Linked DNA regions of Homo sapiens: region 1 is linked to region 2. Evidence: promoter capture Hi-C in human tissues and cell types (Jung and others, 2019). All regions are on one chromosome and are shown on one strand. Each heading gives the region's core, a stretch centred on a gene start or on the middle of the fragment in contact. The rest is flanking DNA. Distances are from core to core; before and after follow the strand shown. Region 1 overlaps DHX35 (DEAH-box helicase 35). Region 2 holds the start of SLC32A1 (solute carrier family 32 member 1).

Region 1 (3,694 bases), core at 946-3,445, 300 kb after region 2:
AGGACTGGAGACAAGTGCTTGGAGTGAGGAGTATATGAGACGCTCAGAGAATATTTGATGGGTGAATACACTCACGAGAGAGGGAAGAGTTGAAACCTGGGCCATTGAGCCATGTTGGAGTCATTGATAGAAACAGGATGCTTACAAGGAGCACCTAGTTGGAGAGCAGCTCGTCAAACGCCTGTCACCCAGCAGGTAGATGACAGCCTTACTTCAGCAATTGGTGTTCTTCACCTGTGTTTCATTATCAGACCCCTGCCCAGGAGAAAAGTTAAATTTAAATTCTACCCAGCCTGAGAAATTAAATACTAAGGAATAAGATTTTGTAGGGTAGGATTGAGCTTTGGAGGGCTACCGGCCATTGTAGTGTCTAAGATGCTCCCCTCCCCCTGCCTCCAAGAACCAGTTTCCACCCCTTTGGAAGTGATATCACCCCTGTTTAGAGTGCATATTTTACATGGAAATTTCTTATGGACAATAGGAGAGAAGAGACTGGATATCGGATTAGATCATATTTAGACATGTAGATTTGAGATTTTATCAGCTCAGTGCTTAGGAAAAATACAGAAAATCATGGAGACTAAATAAATTACATGCAAATTTAAAACATCTAAGGGTTAAAAAATAGAAAGCAATTAGTGAAAGATACTTTCAGCAGTCATGAGATAAATGATAAAGATTAAAAACTTTATTATAGAATGATTTTATTTAATATATTTAGGAAAAAACAGTTTTCAGGTTGATAAATGGGCTAAGGATTAGAACAAAAAATTCACAAAAGAAGAAATATGCCGATAGTAATCAAATAAATGTAATATAAAAGAAGGTAACAGAAGGTAACACTTTTTGCCAAAACATTGCTAGTAAGAATGCAGTGAAACTGCCATTTTTATATATTGTTGATGGCTTTGGAAATAGTACCACCTTTATGGAACTTACTTACCAACATGCTTTATTCCATTGGATCTAAGATACCATCATGTGTAAGAAACATCGTTATTTTATGTGTCACCAAAGAAAAAAAATGCTGCCAGTTATCATTGTAAAATGCTGTCCTAATTTCAGTGAATTAAAGTTAGAAAAAGAGCGAGTCTTAAAATTGATGAGATGTGATATGTCATTAACCATAAAAATAACATTAGCCTTTTGCACAACAATTTGGAATGTATCCTATGGACATCATCTAATAGTGGGGAAGCTTTATTCATGGAAGATGTTAGCTGTAGCAATAGAAACACCAGTTAAAATGGAACATTTGAAAAATTTGAAGAATTACTTCAATTTTCAAACACTAGCTCATAACCACAGAAGTAACGTTGTATACTATCTCCAGTTTGTGTTTTATAGAAAGAACATTGTTGCCATATGACACTCTTTTACAAAGGAGTTCTGAGGTCACTGACCAGCCTGCAGAGCAGCACTCTTAGGTTCTGGTGCCCAGCCATGGTCCAGTCATCTGTGGCTTAGGGGAGGTTGGAGGGGTCCCAGGTTCAAGGAGCAGACCAGCATTGTTGTCAGCAGCAGTTGTGGGGAGTGGGACCTCCTTAGATGGTGCTGGGGCAGGCATCCAGCATTGGGAAGGGTAGGGCTGGAGCCATTTCAGGAGAGGGTTTCCAGGTGTCTTGAAGCAGCCTGGGGTGGTGCTGGGAGTGGATCCTGTGCATTAGAGCACACGGAGCCTAGGGCAGGCAAGGGTTTCACCCGCCTCTCTGTTGGCTGCCTATGTAGGTGACCCGGATCTGGTTCTGAGGTGCATTGTCTCCGGCTTCTTCGCCAATGCAGCGAGGTTTCATTCTACTGGAGCTTATAGGTAACATGATACTTGGTGAAGTCATTTGTTAAAGGAACAATCTTACAAATGACCCAAACCCCACAGAAAGCTGTGCAGAGATAGTAATTGCATAATTATTTGTAATTTCTACCATGTCTCCTTCCAAAACTGAGTTGAGGTTAGCGACATAGCTTTAAGCAAAATATCTTGACTTTCTAAAAATGATTCTCACATATTCAGCTCATCTATATGTTGTATGTTTTAGAAGGATGACAATTATACATCTTGAGGCTGGTAATATTTCAATTCTAATGACAGAATAATATGACCTGAAGAAACTATTAAAAATAATGTTTCTCAGAGAAGTTATTTTACAATTGGCTAGTTTATTATGTCTTTAGAGATCTGCACGACTGAAGTCCCCTCCCACCCTGGTATAGTGTGGCCACGTCTGGTGTCTTTGGAGGTAGCCAGGTGTTTCTCATGTGCTGGATGTGCCTCCTGCTACATAACCTGATTCTTCCAGTTCCATTTTCTAGGCATAGGAAATCACTCATTGATGCCTTCCTAATGGTCTTTACTATATTCAAATGCAGTGAAAACTAAGCATAGCTTAGGCATACTGTAGCCTGTCAGTATCATGATTCTCCAAACTAATCATTCCAGTGCTTTGAATTGTTACTTTTATTCTGTCTTTTCTGTCTTTGGCTCATTTTAGTTTCATAACCTCAGTGTAGCCTCCTAAAAGTGTAGCTATCATCATTTTCTGTTCTTTAATAAGAGAACACTCCAAAGAATTTCTCCCCAGCTCTTCTATGTATTATTTTGTCATTAATTTTTTTTCCCAGAGAAAATATTACTGCCCTGTTATCTTGAGGTCAGCCAAGATATCCCTTGTCCTGGGCTCCTGTTAATGAGTCCAGAGTTGCACTGAGCCTTTTTTAATTTTGACAGCCAGATCTGCTCCATCTAGTATCCTAGTAGCCGACTGTTGGAACTGCAGGATAGCACTTTACAATGATCTCTAGTATGTTCTCTTTGTTACTCCAGGCATGTTGTAGCCTGTCAGTATTGTGATTCATTTGCCCATTGTATGAGCTCACCTCCCCACCCTGAGTTGTCTGTATTTGAGGCAACTTGTCCATGTGGAGGCGACCCCCACGGTGGCCCGAGATCTTCCCTAAGGAGTGCTGCCAGCTTGTCATCTTGATTGCTCCTACTCTCCTGGAGAGTTAGCAATTTTGACTAGCGTTTGGAAAATTCTTTTATCAGTGTCCTTAGCAACAATGTGGGCTACCTAAGAGGTTCCAGGCTAATCATTCCTTTGAGACAACATTTAGTGTTGATCAGCTCACCACCCCCTGGTAGGACAGCCCAGGACCCCAGGACGCTGGCTTTATTACAATGCCGACGAGGCATTCCGTCACAGCACTTGAAGCACTTCCCCCAAGAAACAGATCATTCTACTGAGTTGGAATTGGAAGTACTATTTCAGAGAAATTAATAGTCCAGTATTGAGCTTTTTTTTTTTTTTTTGAGATGGAGTTTCGCTCTTGTTGCCCATGCTAGAGTGCAATGGGGTGATCTTGGCTCATCGCAACCTTTGCCTCCCAGTTTCAAGCGATTCTCCTGCCTCAGCCTCCGGAGTAGCTGGGATTACAGGCATGTGACACCACACCCAACTAATTTTGTATTTTTAGTAGAGACAGGGTTTCTCCATGTTGGCCAGGCTGGTCTTGAACTCCCGACCTCAAGTGATCTGCTCGCCTTGGCCTCCCAAAGTGCTGGGATTACAGGCATGAGCCACCATGCCTGGCTGTGAGCTTTCTTTTTTCATTATCGTTACGTCCCCCTATAGTCATTATCTTTAGTATTTAACTTTGCTTTTTAGATTATAGAAGAAATCACATGTATTATTTCCAT
Region 2 (3,582 bases), core at 576-3,075:
TGTCTTGGTTTCCACCAGGCAGGAGCTAGGGGCTTTCCAGAGCTTCTGGGGAAATTAAGGGGGTACCTGGGGAGAGGTTAGGAGCATCTCTGTCCAATGTGGTGGAGGTTCCCTATCTGGAGAGAAGCCTCCTCCGGGAGACTGGGAGGGGCTTGGGATGGGAGGAGGTGGCAGGAGGCGGGAGGGTGTAGAGAGGGAAGCCTGTCTTGTCCTGGCAGCTCCAACTCTCTGGCCAAAGCCCTCGGGCCGCCCTACTTGTGCGCTGACGTGAGCTAATCTAGAAATACTGCAGAGAAAGAGTGGCTGGGGTTCCCAGGGAGAAAGGGCCTCGAGAGAGGGGAGATGGGGAGCTGCTTCCTTTTTTGTTTCCTTCGGTTTTTCCGTCCGCCCCCGCCCCCACTTCCAGTCACAGCCGCTACTTCTCCATTCAGGCTGGGACTGCCAGGTGGAGCCCTGCGGTTTACTGCTCAGGAGGAGCCCGGCCAGGACATCAGCTGGGGACTTACGCAGGGACCCATTCAGAGCAGCGGACCCTCACGGAGACTACTACAAAGGGACTAACACAGGCACGAACGCAGGCAACCCCATTCGGGAACACATACGTAATCCAACACACTAGCTCTGGCACACACACTGGAATGCGCGCAAAACCACACAGACACAGAACACACGCGGTTACCAAACCTCATTCTCAGAGGCCACACTGATCCAACCTCAAGCAGAGTCTGATACAGCATCGGTCTTTGTCTCTGGGTCTCTCCCTTACTCGCGCTCACACACCCGTACCCCAATCAACACAAACAGCCCAAGCTTTCACAGCCTGGAGGCGGCCGTCGGAGCAGGGCCCCAGCGCACCGCGAGCCTCTGCTTCCTCCGCCTTGCAGCGCCGCGAGCCCTTCTTTCCTCCGCGCCTGGCCCCGTCTGCGCCCCTCTCGGCGTGGGCATTCGCAGACCCGCTAGGAGGCTGACGAGAGGTGTCCTCATAGAGTCCTGCCTTCTTCCAGACCCCCAAACGAAAAGAAAGAGAAAAGCCAACCTTTCGCCTCCATTCTGCACGCATTTGGAGAGCGGCTGGTGGCGAGCGATCCGCACAATCGCTTCCCTCGCGGCGTCCCTGGACGGGCGGAGAGAACCCGGGTGACTGAGCCTGAGGCTGAGCTTCCTTGGGAGCGATCCATGCCAGCCACTTCTACCTTCAAGGGGGACTCGCGGCCGGGTTTACGCGCGAAGGATGGGTGCCAGGGAAACTGACTTATAGACGACCCGCTCCGCGAGAGACTGACAACTCAGTCCTGCGGGCTTTCGGGGCGCCCAGACCAGTCCTTAGCCAGAGGATCTGGGGCTGCACAGCTCCCGGACCCTGGAGGGGGTGGTCCGGGGGTGGGAGACTGCGAGCATCAGCCCACGCCGGCCCCCTCCCACCCTGCGGCGGCGAGGTGGGAAGGGCCAGGATGCGAGCTTAGCACCTCCCCTAGAAATGCAGCACTTCGCCCCCCCACCTCCCCTGCCCTCGGCGCTCCCTCTTTCACGCGCTCCCTCCCGCCTCCTTCCCAAGGGCGCCCTTCTTCTGCCCCCAGCTCACGTCTGAATCCCTCGGCGCCCCCTTTCTCTTCTCCTAGCCCCTTCCTCACGTCCCCTGCCTCCGGGTATTTCCTCTCTCCAATCCCCCACCCCCGCACCGCCTGATTCCGAGGGGCGGGAGCGCATTGGGCTGCGCACGGGTGGGGGCGCCGCGCCAGCTTCGCGTAGCTGCTCTGACGCCGCTGCCGCCGCCGCCGCCGCCGCCGCCCTCCGCAGCCCAGCTCGCGCCCCGCGGCAGCTCCGCAGTGCACTAGCCACCACCGCCGCCGCCGCCGCTCCGCCAGACCTGCTGCCAGCTTGCCCGGTCCAGCCCTGAGAGAGCCTCGAACGCCAGCTGCGAGGGTCATGAGCCAGAGAGCCCCGGGGCGCCGCGCGGAGAGCAAGCGGAGATAGCGACTTTGCGCCCCCCAGCCCTCGCCTTCTTGCATCGCGTTCCCCGCATCCTCGGGTCCTTCTGTCCTTTCCGCTGTCCCCACCGCCGCCATGGCCACCTTGCTCCGCAGCAAGCTGTCCAACGTGGCCACGTCCGTGTCCAACAAGTCCCAGGCCAAGATGAGCGGCATGTTCGCCAGGATGGGTTTTCAGGCGGCCACGGATGAGGAGGCGGTGGGCTTCGCGCATTGCGACGACCTCGACTTTGAGCACCGCCAGGGCCTGCAGATGGACATCCTGAAAGCCGAGGGAGAGCCCTGCGGGGACGAGGGCGCTGAAGCGCCCGTCGAGGGAGACATCCATTATCAGCGAGGCAGCGGAGCTCCTCTGCCGCCCTCCGGCTCCAAGGACCAGGTGGGAGGTGGTGGCGAATTCGGGGGCCACGACAAGCCCAAAATCACGGCGTGGGAGGCAGGCTGGAACGTGACCAACGCCATCCAGGTAAGCGCGGGATTCCCAGTTCTGCCTGTCCTCCCCCCTCCCAGCTCAGCGTGCCGGGCTCTGCCCCCGACAGTCGCCCGGTGATCTCGGCCTGGAGACCCCCTCCTGTACCCAGGAATCTCCCTTTCTCCATCCCTCCCAGCCCTGCGCGGGGACCTACGCCCCCAGGCGGTGTTTTCCGCCCTAACCCACGCTCCCTCCCAACGGCACCAGCTGCAAGACCGCTAGGCTGAAGTTCGGTCTGAGACACCTGTCCGGAGACACTGCAAAAGTGAAGGAAATGGGGGGAGGGAGCAGGAAGCGATGAGAAAGAAAGAAAATCAGGATTGGAGGGCACGGTTTGGTCTTGGACTCTGGAACGGATTCACAGCTGCATTTTTGGGAGGAAAGAAGAAGGGGAAATCGCTGAGGTCGGAGTCTCCTCCCCCCGCACACACGCATAGACACGCACACGTATATAGGCAGGCACACCACATGCCCACAGCCCCCCTTCCCACGAACAAAGGCGCAGGCACAGGCGCACACGACATGTATCTATATATAGACCACAGTACTATCCCCAAATGCACCTGCGTACACCCCTACAGCTCCACAAACAAAAGCATATACCTGCACATACCAAACACACGAATATTCGTTTGAACATATGCACACACACATGCACAGATGCATGCAGACAGGAACCAGCCTGCTCCCTTGGGTGCGGCCCTGTTGGAGACATACAGGTATACACACACGAAAGCACACACATGCTCCCACACAAACACATTTAGTCCGCAATAATCCAGCATTACCTGTGCACAGACTCGCCCCTCTCGCCCGAAATCCCGGCTGCACCGCAAAGAGGCGGCCAGCTCCTCCCCGTGTGACCCTGGCGAAGCCCTCTCCAGAGGCTAAGAATGGCCCCTGCTCTCTAGGCCCTCTCCCCTTATTCCTAACCCCCCACTCCCCACCAGGCGGCGCAGGACTCCTACATAGGGAGCAGGTTTGGAGTCTTGGCAACGACCTCCGAGCTAGCAGGGGCTGGCAGGCCGCAGCTTTCTGGGCCGAAGGAGACTTCAGCTCTAGGCAACCCCGGTCCCTTACAGCTTGGCCCCGCGGCGTCCCTGGAGCGCACTATCACTGGGG

Evidence for each region. The method cuts DNA at HindIII sites, captures the fragments that hold promoters and counts their contacts. A contact is called where the count stands out against the background at its distance.
Region 1: a fragment that was not itself captured here is called in contact with the fragment with the promoter of SLC32A1 in region 2 in 2 of the 25 tissues and cell types used here (lymphoblastoid cells and spleen).

Annotation. Positions count from the first base shown.
Region 1 is chr20:39,026,690-39,030,383 of GRCh38, forward strand. It overlaps DHX35 (DEAH-box helicase 35), which reads left to right. Exons shown (of 22, transcript NM_021931.4): 19 at 1,729-1,810. Among named protein-coding and RNA genes, the nearest start is that of DHX35, 66 kb to the left of the region's middle. The HindIII fragment of the contact is 7,874 bases long and covers 1-3,694 here.
Region 2 is chr20:38,722,661-38,726,242 of GRCh38, forward strand. It overlaps SLC32A1 (solute carrier family 32 member 1), which reads left to right and starts at 1,826. Exons shown (of 2, transcript NM_080552.3): 1 at 1,826-2,454. The coding sequence starts at 2,065. The HindIII fragment of the contact is 7,924 bases long and covers 1-3,582 here.